Regions from separate parts of the Homo sapiens genome. Here all the other regions are linked to region 3. The links are contacts of gene promoters, found by promoter capture Hi-C in human tissues and cell types (Jung and others, 2019). All regions are on one chromosome and are shown on one strand. The core of a region is centred on a gene start or on the middle of the fragment in contact, and the rest is flanking DNA. Distances in the headings are between cores, read along the strand shown.

Region 1 (4,079 bases), core at 785-3,284, 520 kb before region 3:
GTTAGGATAATTCATCTCCCTGGCCACAGGGATTACTTTAGTAGTGTGGGCATGACTAAAATTGGTCAATCAGGGTTCATCCTGGAACTTTTTCTCAAATTATTGGGAAAGAGGTGGTCTCTTTCATCAGGGGCTGTTGGGTTAACAGGATATCAACCAGAAGTGGCTGGAGGGTCAACTCTGGCTCTCTGGGGAAAAAAAATCTGCCCAAGAGTGTAGCCAAAGCAGAGGGACTCTGTGCCAAGACACAAAGACAGGTTTCTAATGACATTATTTGAGCACCTGGATCCAGCCATCCCTGAAGCCATCCCTTTGGATTTTCCAACAATATGAACTGATGAATGCTCTTTTTGGATTAGGCCAGTTGGGCTGGATTTCTGACCCTTGCAAATAAAAAGTGATCTGACTGAACAAAATTGTTATCTTAATTTTACAGGTGAGAGAGCTAAGATTCATAGAGGTAAAATGACTTGCGTTTAGGATCCACAGGAAGGAAGGGGCTGAATCACACTGAGATATCACAAAGAAAGTGCATGGCATCTACCAGGTCCTCAAGAAATGCCTGTTCCCTTCTTCCATAGATCAAGGAGTGGTGGAGAGAAGGACGGGAGGAGGTATACCCACTGGTGGAAGCTCCCCCATGAGCCGCAAGCTTCTGGGCAGATTCTAGATTGCATCTGGAATCCTCCAAACTCTCCCAGCCTGCACTGGGGTCTGGCAGGAGCAACCAAAGCCCAGGAGTTGACACATAAAGTGAACAAGCGGTCAGATGTCAGCATTTGAACAAAATTCCTGAGGATCCCACTCTCTCCAAAAAAGTGTCATCTAAGAGCCCTGGCTGCAACACAGGGTTTCCATAGAAGGGCCAGAAGTCTTAGCACTTCTCAGGGCTTACGCTTAGTAGGATCTTGTACAGATAATTGTTTCAGTACCACCAAGGATTCTGTGGTCACTTGAACTTCTCAAAGCTCCTTCATATTGAAACTGGATAGAGAGTAAGGGGTTAGCCTACAAACTTTGACTTTGGACAAAGTTGGGTTCCAATCCTGGCCCTTGGCAGCTGGGTGACTTTCGGTACATTACTTAACCTCTCTGAGTCTCCCGTGTGAAACAGGCAGAATCGGAAGATGAAGTCAGACAAAACAGGTAGACACTCTTAGTACAGAGTTTGGAACCACTTCAGCTTTTGGGCAAGCAGATTAGTTCTAGATATAGGTTGAACTCTGGCATGTATGATCACATTAACTCTCTGAGCCTCAGCTTCCTCATCTGTAAAATGGGGCTCAGAATAATACCCCCTGCACAGGTGGTTGTCAGGCAGCAATGAAATCATGCATGGAAAATGCGTACCCCAGGGTACGCATGTGAACCGAGGACACCCTGCCAGCAGGACGGCCCCCCACTCATCCACCGGCAGGGAGTTTTGGCCCACACAGTGAATTCGTTGCCAATATTTATTTTCCCTATGAATTCACATTTGAGCTTCTCAAGAAAAATCTGAAGCTCTGGGTACTCTTGGTCCACGCTGCTCCGTGGCAAGCCCAGGCTGCCGCTGCGCGGTGTTAAGTCCAGTCCTGTACTCTAAAATCTCACGTGCACCCTGTGCGTGTTGTTTATGAGGCTCGCTTGGCTTCTGCAGGAATCTGGTTTGGGAGCCCAGGAATAAATCATTAGACGTGTAGCCAGCGATGAGGGAAAAGATTAAACAGTGCCAGAGAAGCAGTCATGGGTTCCTTAGGGAATGCTGGGCCAAGAGCTGGGTCCGCGAGATGCCCTGGATCAGGAATATGCGGATGGAATCCCTGCCTGGGCCAGCCCCTCATCCATCCGTATATGGCTGCAGAGAAGCCATGTTGCTGCTTCCTTAGAGCCCCTGGCTGCATTTTCCCCTCGTCTCTCCTGCTTCTAGACTGCTCTGAAGCTCCTCCTAGTCCCCACCGCTCATCCTACCACACCTCAGTAAAGCAGAATTAGAGGATTAAAAAAGACGGGCAGGAGATAGGGGACTACTTTAGCCCAACGGCTTTGGAGGGCCTCACTGAGGAGGTGATGCGTGAGTGCGGATCTGAGGAATGCAAAGGAGCCAGCTCGCAAAGATCTGGGGAAAGGCCGGTCCGGGCAGCAGTCACGGCAAGTGCAAGGGTCCTGGGGCAGGGAAGAGATTGGCAAGAAGAGGAGGAGAAAGGCGACCAGTGTCCCTGGTGCTAGGGAGGAAGACAAAGGGCGTGAGAGTTGAGGTCAAAGAGAGAAGAGAGGCAGGCCTTTAAGACCTGATAGGATGTTTTGAACCTGAGAATCCTGGGAGCCACACGGCCATGGCCTAATGTAGGTTTAAAGATCCCCTAGCTCTAGCCAGGCGCAGTGGCTCATGCCTGTAATCCCAGCACTTTGGGAGGCGGAGGTGGGCAGATTACCTGAGGTCAGGAATTCGAGACCAGCCTGGCCAACATGGTGAAACCCTGTCTCTACTAAAAATACAAAAATTAGCCGGGCACGGGGGTGGGCGCCTGTAATCCCAGCTACTCGGGAGGCTGAGACATGAGGATCGCTTGAACCTGGGAGGCAGAGGTTAAAGTGAGCCGAGATTGTGCCATTGCACTCCAACCTGGGCAACGTGAAACTTTGTTTCAAAAAATAGTAAAATAAAATAAAATAAAATAAAATAAAATAAATAAAATAAAATAAAATAATCCCCGAGCTGCACCTAGGAACAGCCTGTAGGGGGACTGGAATAGAAACAGGAATCAAAGTGAGGAGGCTGTGGTAGGTGTCCAGGCAAGAGACTGTGTCTGTTCACAGTACGGAAGACAAATTCAAGTTATATTTTGGAGGTGAAATCAACCAATTGCTGATGGCTCAGATGTGTGGGGCGAGGGAAAGAAGAGTCAAGATGGAATCCCAGGTTTTCATCCTGAGCAACTGGGAGGATAGTGGTGGTGTTTCCTGAGATGGAGAGGAATCGGAGGAGCACCTGGGGCCAGATCATGGGGGTGCTGTGAACATCAGCTGAGGGGTCTGGACCAGACCCCGCAGACAATGGGGAGCTTGGGAAGGCTTCTGAGCAACAGCAGAATATTCATTCAGTCATTCAACAAACATTTGTGGTAAAAGCTTGTCCATATTCTATTCTCTCACAGACGGCAAAGCTCCCCACAAGCAGCCGTGGGTTATGGGCCACAAACATCCTTCCTGGGCCTATAGAGTGCACGAGAAAGCTCTACCTGCCCATCCACATTTTCCCTTCCCGACTTCTTCACCTCTGGCTTGAGGAGCTGAAGAGCATTTAAAAAATATTCATGGCTGGGCGCAGTGGCTCATGCCTGTAATCCCAGCACTTTGGGAGGCCGAGATAGGCAGATCGCCTGAGCTCAGGAGTTTGAGACCAGCCTGGGCAACATGGTAAAACCCCGTCTCTACAAAAAATACAAAAATTAGCCGGGTGAGTTGGCGTGCACCTGTAGTCCCAGCTACTTGGGGGGCTGAGGTGGGAGGATCGCTTGAGCCTAGGAGGTCGAGGCTGCAGTGAACCATGTCACCGCCACAGCACTCCAGTTTGAGTGACAGAGCGAGACCCTATCTCTAAAAAAAAAAAAATTAAAAAAATTAAAAAATGAAAATATTTATTTACTCCCTGCCTGTCTTTTCCTCTAAAAGCTCCATGAAAGCAGGGACCATCTTTGTAACTTCAGCATCTCTCATGCCTAGACCTGTGTCTGGTACATAGTAGGTGCTTAATAACTATTGAGGAACTGAATTTTAAAAATAAATAAATGAGCCCTAGTCTCTCAGACTGAAGGACTGACTGAGAGCCTGTAAAGTGCCCCGTTCAGGGCCTGGTATACAGTAGACATTCAATAAACAGTAATGAAAATATACACAGAAAATACAGCCACTCTGTCAGGTCCCTGGTAGGTCTTGAGGCTTCTCCAGTGTAGGAAAGGCCAGAGGAGTAGGAGGGTGAGGTGGCCTGTGACTCACCCTCCCGGGGCCCCTGTCTTGGGCCTAGGCCTGTGGGCATGGCGTCTGCACTAATCCGGCTAAGCAGCTGGATGTGCAAGGGTGTGTAATCCCAGGCCTGC
Region 2 (4,624 bases), core at 1,355-3,854, 610 kb before region 3:
TTGGTATCATGGAATACTCTCCAGACGTTTCTCACGTTCAGCCAGATTTGTGAATGAACACGATCAAATCTCCAGGGAGTTAAAGTGAAGGTTCTGATTCAGCGGGTCTGGGTGGGCCTGAAATTGTGCATTTCCACCACACTCCCAGGGGATGCTGATGCTGGACCATGCTCTAGGGAGCGAGGGCCAGGCCTGGTTAACGTTTACCTTCTGGGGCAGGCAGAGGGCTGCTCCCCTGAAACATCTTGGTGGTCTTAGTGAGGAAGGAAGAAAGTGGGGCTCATTGGAGACTAGCTGTGGGGTAGGCAACTCCCGTGGCATTCAAAGAATTAAAGGTTAGGGTGAGGTTAGAAGCTTACACCTGGGCAACCATACAAATGCAAAAGCTCAGACATCTGTTCCCAACTCCCTGATGTGCCAGGAGGGCCATGTTTGCCTAGGTTTTGGCTCTACTTCCTAGCCAGAGTCAGGCCTGAATACCCAGCGTGGGCTTAGTTTGCTTCTCCTGAGGTTACTCAGGAACCTGTCTTTCTGGAGAAGCCAGTGCCATGTCCAGAGGTGCCCTCCTCTGCGCTGCAGACACCACGGAGACTGATAACAGGGCTGCCAGCTGGTTTAATTACCCAGATGGGAAGCTGGCAGGTGGAGTCTAACCTTGACAGAGATTAATGACTCCATTATCTTCCTAGGCTATCATCCCGTGCGGGCCCCAGTCCGGAATGTAGACATAAGGTGTAAATAAAGTCCTTGTTCTGAGGGAGGACATTTTTCATTGTCTTCAGATGGGAATTTGCCCCCAGAAACCCTTGACTCAAATTCGGGAAGTATCTTTTTTTGGCAGAATAACCTGGTCGTTTGTGGGCATGTGACAGGTCTCCTAAAGGCTGGGCCAAGGCTTGCTGGCAAAACCAATGTTACTTGTTTCCTTAAACTCATTAAGAAATACGTGCCTGTTGTAAACAACTTAAAGTGACAGCTCTTGTCTCCTTTCCCACTCTTTGAAGGTAACTATTATACTTAACTCTTTGGCGTATAGTCTTCCAAATATATTTCTTTTTCTGTTTGTTTTCTTCTCCAGATAAAGTTTCCCCCCAAATTTTATTGGGGCATAATTATAGTACATTTATTTATTTATTTATTTGAGATGGAGTCACTCTGTCGCTCAGGCTGGAGCGCAGTGGCACAATCTTGGCTCACTGCAACCTTCACCTCCTGGGTTCAAGTGATTCTCCTGACTCAGCCTCCCGAGTAGCTGGGATTACAGGCACCTGCCACCATGCCCGGCTAATTTTTGTATTTTTAGTAAAGATGAGGTTTCACCATGTTGGCCAGGCTGGTCTTGAACTCCTGACCTCAAGTGATCAGCCCTCCTCGGCCTCCCAAAGTGTTGGGATTACAGGACTTGAGACACTGTGCCTGGATGGTGGCACATATTTAAAGTATATAACTTGATTGGTCTTTAAAATTATTTTATTATTTGCAGAGATAATAAATCTTCCTTAATAAATAAAACAATCTTCCTTCCTCACTTTGTTGCCTAGGGCTGGTCTGGAACTCCTGGGCTCAAGTAGTCCTCCTGCCTTGGCCTCCCAAGGTGTTGGGATTACAGACATGAACCTCCAAGCCCAGCCCCAATTTGATTACTCTTTTTTTTTTTTTTTGAGATGGAGTCCCACTCTGTCGCCCAGGCTGGAGTGTGGTGGCATGATCTTGGCTCACTGCAAGCTCTGCCTTCCCGGTTCACGCCATTCTCCTGCCTCAGCCTCCTGAGTAGCTGGGACTACAGGTGCCCACCACGCCCGGCTACATTTTTTTTTTTTTTAATATTTTTAGTAGAGACGGGGTTTCACCGTGTTAGCCAAGAGGGTTTCGATCTCCTGACCTCGTGATCCGCCTGCCTTGGCCTCTCAAAGTGCTGGGGTTGAGCCACTGCGCCCGGCCTATTATTATTATTTTTTGAGATGGAGTCTTGCTCTGTCGCCCAGGCTGGAGTGCAGTGGCGCGATGTTGGCTCACTGCAAACTCCACCTCCCTGGTTCACGCCACTCTCCTGATTACTCTTGACATAGACCCATTAAACCATCTCTCCAACTAGGATAGAGCACATGTCCCTCACCCCCAAAAGTTTCCATGTGTCCCTTTGTGATTCCTTCCTACCTGCATCCCCTCCACTACTGAACAACAACTGTCACTATAAATTAGTTTGCATTTTCTAGGTTTTATGGAAATGGAATTATGCAGCATATGTATATGCTTTTGCCTGGCTTCTTTCACTCAACATAATGATTTTGAGATTCATCTATGTTGTAGAAATCAACAATATGTTGCTTTTAATTGCTGAGTATATCCCATGGTATGGATATATCACAATTTGTCTATCCATTCATCTGTGGATGGACTTTTTAAGTTGCTTCTAATTTATGGTGATTACAAATAAAGCTGCTCTGAACATTTGTGTACAAATCTTTGTGTGAACAGATATTTTAGCTTCTCTTAGGCAGATACCTAGGAGTGGAAAGACTGAGTCATGTCACATGGTAGGTACATTTAACTTTTCAAGAAACTACCGAACTGTTTTCCAAAGTGGTTTATCTCATTTTGTGTTCTCACCAGCCCTGGGTGAGAGTTTTATGCGCTCCACATCCTCACCAACCCTGTGATGATCAGTCTTTCTAATATTTGCCATTCTAATGAGTGTGAAGCGGTATCTCATTATGATTTTAACATGCATTTCCCTAATGTCTAACGCTATTGAGTATCTTTTTATGTGCTTATTGGCCATTTGCATGTATTATTTTGTGAAGTGTCTGTTGAAAATTTTGTTGCTCTTTCTTTTATTGGGCTGTTTTCTTATTGTTGAGTAATAAGGGTTCTTTATATATGTTAAATGTCTAAAATGCTACATTTTAATATAGTGGTGTCCTCAAAGTGGGAGTGATGAATTTTATCTAATTTTGTCATGGTCAGGGGAGGAGTTGTGCTCTGGAAGCCCATCCATGGGGAAGGTGAGGTTCAAACTCTAAGATAAAAACTCTAGATAAAATTTTAAGTCCTGCTGTGGATGGCTGTTGTTTCTTTCTGCCCAGCATTTACACCTTTTCTGATAACAACTCACCCCAATGTTTTCAAGGGAGAATTATTCTTCCACCATTTTTAGTACCTGCGGTTTGGGTGAAGCTGACCCTAAACCCTGGCTCCTGGGGAGGGGTATGACCTTGGCCTGGCCAATCAGCATTTTCATCTTCCTGGCTCTGTAATGTGCATGTAACTCAGATGGATCCAATGGGATTCAACTTTAGGACTTTTGCTGGAGTGACTCTTTGTATTGGTCTCAGCTTCCTCCTCAGCCACCTCCTTCCTCAGCCACCTCCTCAGAGAAGCCCTCCCTGACTTGCAGAAGAGATGAGGCATCTCTGATGTGCTCAGTTAGCTCGCTGATCTTTCATGCACAGCACTTATCACAGCTATTAACTAAATATTTGTATGATTATCTGTGTAATAAATTTCTGCCCTCCAGACTGCAAGCTCCATGAAACTGGGGCTGCATCTCTTTTGTTCACTCTTGAGTCCCCAGCATTGGTATAGCCTATCCGTATATTTTGAACGTGAAGATGACAGGATTTGCTGAGGAATTGGATGCATGCTGGATGTGGGAGAAATAGAAACTTGAGACTTAATAAATACTTGTTGAGTGAATGTAGGAAGCTACATTTGTGCATGAGAAAACTGAGGTCCAGAGAGGTGAAATGACTCTCCCCAAATCGCACAGCAAGTCAGGAGCAGAGCTGGAATGTGAATTCGGGGCTGTCCAACTTCAGAGCTTGTGCTCTTCCTCAGCACCCTAAATGACTCCTTGCAAACTGAACATAATTTTCCACAACAAACACTGCTTAGGCATGGCAGATACCTCTGAAATAAACTGTGTTATTTATCTATTGCTTCATAACAAATTACTTCCCAACCTTGGTGGCTTGAAACAACATTTATTAACTCATGATTTCTGTAGGTTGGGATCCAGGTGTGGCTTAGTTAGGTCCTCTGCTTTGGGGCCTCTCATAGGCCACAGTCCAGGTGTTGGCTGGGGCTGCATTCTCATCTTAAGGCTTGACTGGGGAAGGATCTGCTTAGGGAAGGATTTGCTTCCAAGCTCTCTCTCTTTTTTGTTGGAGGGATTCAGTTCTGAGGGTTCTTGGTTGAGGTCCATTCCTTGCCACATGGGCCTGTCCCTTGGGCAGCTCACAGCATGGCACCTGGTTTTATCAAAGGAGTGAGTGAGTGGGAAAAAGTGAGCAGAAAGGAAGTCATGGTATCTTGTAGCCTCATCATGGAAGTGACATCCCATCATGTTTGCCTTGTTCTATTCATTGGAAGTGAGTCACTAAGTCCAGCCCACACTTCAGGGAAGGAAATTACATAAGTGAAAACAAGTTTGTGAATGCCCAGGTCAGTGGGAGTCATCTGAGAAGCCTGCCTACCACTTAAACTAAGTCTCTTTCTCATGTAGCTTAACTTCTGGTCAGGGGAAGTGCACAAAAAGCAAACAAATAAATAAAAATATAACACATCAGATGATGCTAAAATGCTTGCAGAAAATCATGTGGAGGAGGTTATGGAGGGCTGGGTG
Region 3 (4,775 bases), core at 1,812-4,311:
CCACTGGAGAGGATAGTCACACATGCATTTACCATTCTTGACTTATCTAAGAGAAGCTGCCATCACGCCTCTGGCCCCAGGGTCTGTTTTTTGGTAGTCTGAGAACCATTCAAACACAGAGACATTAAGCTTCCGAATACTGCTGTAATTTTTCTCCAAGGAAGTCAGCCTTGAACTCAAAGAGACTGATTTTTTACAAAGTCAGCCAGTCTCAAGCTCGGCTCAGCGTCTGCTGCTCTATAATCGCACCACAGTCCACACCCTTGTTTGTTGCTGAAAAACAATAAATAAAGGAAAGGGATCCAAACAGCCCAGCTGATGTTCAAAATACTCACAATAAGGACAGGAAGCCTATCTAAAACAAATCTCAAACCAACCTGGGTAGGTGAGGGAAAAGGCGGAAGAAAGTAAAAGCTAAAAGATAATTAAGGGCAAGACAAGCCTGGACAACATAGTTAGACTCCGTCTCTACAAAAAAAAAAAAAAAAAAAATTAGGTGGGTGTGGTGACACCCACCTGTAGTCTTAGCTACTTGGGAGTCTGAGGTGGGGGGATCCACTGAGCCCAGGAGTTTGAGGCTGCAGTGAGCTATGATGGCACCACTGCACTCCGGCCTGGGTGACAGAGCAAGACCTTGTCTCAATCAGTCAATAAGGAAAGGAAAGAAAGAGACTAACAATTACTGAGGTTCTACTATGTGCTAAGCATTGGGCTTCCCACTTTACCTACATCATCCCATTTAATCCTCACAACTCTATAAGGAAAACAGGCTCTTCCCATTAAAACAACCTGCCCAACAGAGTTTGAAAGGGTCAGAGCTGGAATCTGAACTCTTGCTGGGAGGCCCTTGATGCCTGGGCTTTCTCCAATTTACCTCACTCATTTATTGTTACATCAGTACCATTTACCAAGGGATTACTGTGTGGCATCCCTCTGCTAACTGCTCTGTGAAAACCAATGAAATCCACAGGATAGATCCAAGGTTAAAGAGGAAACTGAGGCTCGGAGAGGCCAACTCACTTACCCTAAGTCGTAAGGCTAGGAAGAAGTGGATCTGAGCTCTGAACCTAGGTCTAACGCCAAAACTCCGACTCTTGCAAAGCCATCCTGCTGCATCTGCTGGACAGCTCTACTCGAAAGTGTTTGGCTAAGTTAGAATGCCTTATGGCGGCGCGAGCAGAGTTGAGTTACAAAAATTCCTGTAGTAGCAAAATTCCCATCTTCCCACACCGAATGGGGCTAGGAGAGCTAATCTCTATATGATGTAAGCTCAAGGGCCAAGGAAAGAGGCTGGTCAGAGACATCGGCCAGTGATGAAGCAGCTGACATCATCCCTGCTGAAAACATTTTCTGAGAATACAAGATGCCTTGTAGCTGGTCATAGCTGGTGTTTTTTCTGAGCACAGAGCCAGCAATTCATTCCCAGCACTCTGCAAGAACAACAAAATACGCTCTCTGCAAAAACATCGTGGTTACAGGAGACCGAGACAGCCCAGCGACAGAAGCTGCTAATTTCTCCAAGCAACCCAAGGATTGGAACGCCAAGCCGTGCCAGTCTGGTGGAAAAAAAAAAAAAAAAAAACCCAAAAAACAAAAAAACAGCACTGTGAATATCCTGAACACAGAGACAGGCAGGTGCCCAGAGTCAACGGCTCCAGTCAGCACCTCCTGCACCCACAATCTAGGTACCTTCTTGAAAAGCAAGTCAATGGAAAAAGAGATATTGCACAGTCAGGGAGCCAGTGGCTTCTTTAGTTATTTTTTGAACATCTAAGAGGAAAGCTGTATCTGTTTAGAGTCCCACTGCATGGAAGTGAAGTGATTCCGAGTAGCTAAGCATTAGCTTGGCTTTACCTCAGCTGGCCCATTCAAGCAGAAATGTTCCCCAAGCAGCATTTGAAGGCGCCCCCTCTCTGCACAGGCAGACCTATTTTGGTCTGTGCACTGCCCCTGTCCACAGGTTTACACATCCCTGGTCTAGCTCCATCAGCCTCCAAACAGGAGACGGGGAAGTCAGTTCAACCCCCTCCACCTCCCCACCCACACCAATGCACTCGTTCCAAGCAAGAGGCTCCGAGAAACATCCAAGGCACCTTCCACTGGCTGTGAAACACCAGAAGGTCCCCACACTCCTACTAGATTCCAAAGAAATTCACACAGAGTCCTTCCAAACCTCTGAAAATAACCTCAGCGGTGCTGAAAGAAGCTTCCCTAGTGGCAGCTGCCTCTCTCGGAGAAGCTCTGAAGGAAGCTGTTTCCCTCCCTGCAGGGGACAGAAGCTGGCGGCTGCTAAGTCCCAGCTCGGTCATTCCTACAGCCTCGGGGGGCCACGTCAGTTGTGAAAAACAGCCCAGTCTCAAATTCTGGCCCCCCCTACGGCTTCGTGAATTGAATGAAGTAACAGGAACTATCACTTATTGGACGCCTGCTGTATGCCAGAGGCCCTGCATGATCTCATTCCATCTCCACTCCAGCCCTAGCAACCAGGTTCAATCACTTAAATAGGCAACTGAGGCTCTTAAGATGAAGTGACTTATCCAAGGTCACACAGTGAGTACAAACCCAGGTGTGCCGCCAGAGCCTGAACTGGGAACCCCTGCGCGGTAACTGCCTCGTGGCGAAATCGGGGTGTCCTTCTGTTTGGCCAGTCGCCGAAGAGGGGTGTTCCTCTTGGGCGGCCCTGAGCCACCCTCGGCGGGTCCCAGGAGCCTGCGAGGCAGCTCCCGGGAGAATGGGGGTCCTGAGGATAGGCTGGGGGTCCCGGGAGCGCCGAAACAGCGGGCCCACCTGTAGTCCTGCCTGCCGTGAGGGTACCCCGCTCCCGGGCCAGCCGAGCCCTGCCGCTGTCTGGCGCCCCCTCCGCCTGGGGAAGCCCCGAAGGCAGTTTCCGCCCGCGGCCGCCCGTCACTCACCCTGACACTGCCGCCGAGGACGGCCCGGCCGAGGGAAGCAAGCGAGAGGCGCGGCTGCCGCCGGAGCCGGGCCCCGTCGGGCTCTAGCCTCTCCGGCCGGCTGCAGGGGTACTGAGACCAGTACCCGGGGGCCAGCAGCGACCCGGAAACACTCGGCCCGGAAATGATGTCACCATGAGGCGGGCCCGAAGAGAGGGTGGACCACGGCTGCGCGCTGGCTCCGGGAAGCGGTCGATGCCCGCGGCCGACGGAGACTACAACCCAGAGGCGGAGGACAAAGCGGAAGGCCGAAGAGCGAGGACGAAACCGGCGGAACCGCACTTTGGAGCCTAACGAGCCATCGCTGCGTCTGAGACTGGGACCCGGAAGTAAACAGGCCGGACGTGACGCAAGCCGCTCGGCCTAGGGATGGTGGCTGGCCGGGTTGTCATGGAAACCGCTCAGGAGCAGGGAGCTGGGAGCTATGAGTGCTGACTGCGTGAACTCGGCCTCCACTTCCCGGACCTGCCACTTATCATGATCCACGAGCTGTACTCATGACTCCGCACAAGCAAGCAGGGGCTGACGGTCGGATCCCTCGCCCCCATTTTACGGACAGAAGTACCGAGGCTCAAAGAGAGCCAGTGAGATGCTGAAATCACGCGTGATTGGAATCCAGCCTTGCTAGGGCTGCGGGTGTTACGGGCCGTGGGCGGCGGTTAAGAGCGTGGGTTCTATTTTTAGTTTTGCCACTTACTAGCTGTGTGACCTTGGACAAGTTACCTAACCTCTCTGAGCCTCAGCTTTCTAACCTGTAATATTAAATAATAAAGCCAGGCGTGGTGGCACGCGACTGTAGTCCCAGCTAGTCGGGAGGCTGAGGCGAGAGGATGGCTTGCTCCCAGGTGTTCGAGACCAACCTGGGCAACATAACGAGGCCACGTCTCTTAAAAAAAAAAAAAAAAAAAAAAAAAAAAAAAAGCCGGGCACGGCGGCTCACGCCTGTAATCCCAGCACTTTCGGATAAACTATATATATATATAATCTGACATCCCCACCAGACCCTGAGCTTCTTATTCATCTATTTCCCCCCGAGCTCTGCACATGTCTGATGAGGAGGCACACAACAGATGTTCATTGATTGTAGGATTCTCACTCTGAGTCTTGGTGACCCCAGCTAAAACCGGTGGGGCTTGTGTGATGAGTCAGTGACACAATACTGGGAAACGTTTGGAGAACCAGCAATCTGCTGCTGTCCAAACAGTAGCATTACTGTGTTTACCTGTCGTTGCCTGAGCACCGCTCAAAGTCCCTGTGTTCTTTATCAGCTCATGTTTAAGCTCCTCTCTTAATTATCTGCAATGTGATGATGTTCACAGGAATTCCATCTGAGACAAACTGTCCCACCTTAAGTCTGCCTCTTACAGCAACTCAGCACTCTGGTTTGGTAGCTCTTACAATATTGCATTTTCACGTGGGGCTGCTTAAAAAAGTCCCCTCCAGCTCTGTGGGTCTATGACAGGCAAAAGAGAAACAAAGATTTTGAAGAAGGGCTTTACCAGTAGGAAACCCTGGTCATCATCTACTATCAGAAAAGACCCAAAGTCTCCAAAGACAGTCACATTTCTCAGTTTTTTTTTTTTTTTTTTTTTTTTTTGAGACGGAGTCTCGCTCTGTCACCCAGGCTGGAGTGCAGTGGCACAATCTCAGCTCACTGCAAGCTCCGCCTCCTGGGTTCACGCCATTTTCCTGCCTCAGCCTCCGGAGTAGCTGGGACTACCGGCACGCGCCAACACGCCTGGCTAATTTTTTGTATTTTTAGTAGAGATGGGGTTTCACCAAGGTGGTCAGGATGGTCTCCATCTCTTGACCTCGTGATCCGCC

The links. Contacts are between HindIII fragments. The study calls those that stand out against the background at their distance.
Region 1: a contact is called between a fragment that was not itself captured here and the fragment with the promoter of SPATA2 in region 3, in 2 of the 25 tissues and cell types used here (dorsolateral prefrontal cortex and lymphoblastoid cells).
Region 2: a contact is called between a fragment that was not itself captured here and the fragment with the promoter of SPATA2 in region 3, in 1 of the 25 tissues and cell types used here (spleen).

What each region holds. Positions count from the first base shown.
Region 1 is chr20:49,393,716-49,397,794 of GRCh38, forward strand. All of the region lies in intron 1 of KCNB1 (potassium voltage-gated channel subfamily B member 1), which reads right to left. All of the region lies in intron 2 of LOC105372649 (a long non-coding RNA gene), which reads left to right. Among named protein-coding and RNA genes, the nearest start is that of KCNB1, 87 kb to the right of the region's middle. The HindIII fragment of the contact is 4,918 bases long and covers 1-4,079 here.
Region 2 is chr20:49,306,550-49,311,173 of GRCh38, forward strand. LOC124904925 (a long non-coding RNA gene) reads right to left here. Exons shown (of 2, transcript XR_007067637.1): 2 at 3,968-4,250. Among named protein-coding and RNA genes, the nearest start is that of SNORD12, 28 kb to the left of the region's middle. The HindIII fragment of the contact is 7,715 bases long and covers 1-4,624 here.
Region 3 is chr20:49,912,468-49,917,242 of GRCh38, forward strand. It overlaps SPATA2 (spermatogenesis associated 2), which reads right to left and starts at 3,062. Exons shown (of 3, transcript NM_006038.4): 1 at 2,913-3,062. It overlaps LOC105372653 (a long non-coding RNA gene), which reads left to right and starts at 3,355. Exons shown (of 3, transcript NR_134564.1): 1 at 3,355-3,618. RefSeq lists enhancers at 2,080-2,249, 3,044-3,103 and a silencer at 2,764-3,013. The HindIII fragment of the contact is 5,477 bases long and covers 1,168-4,775 here.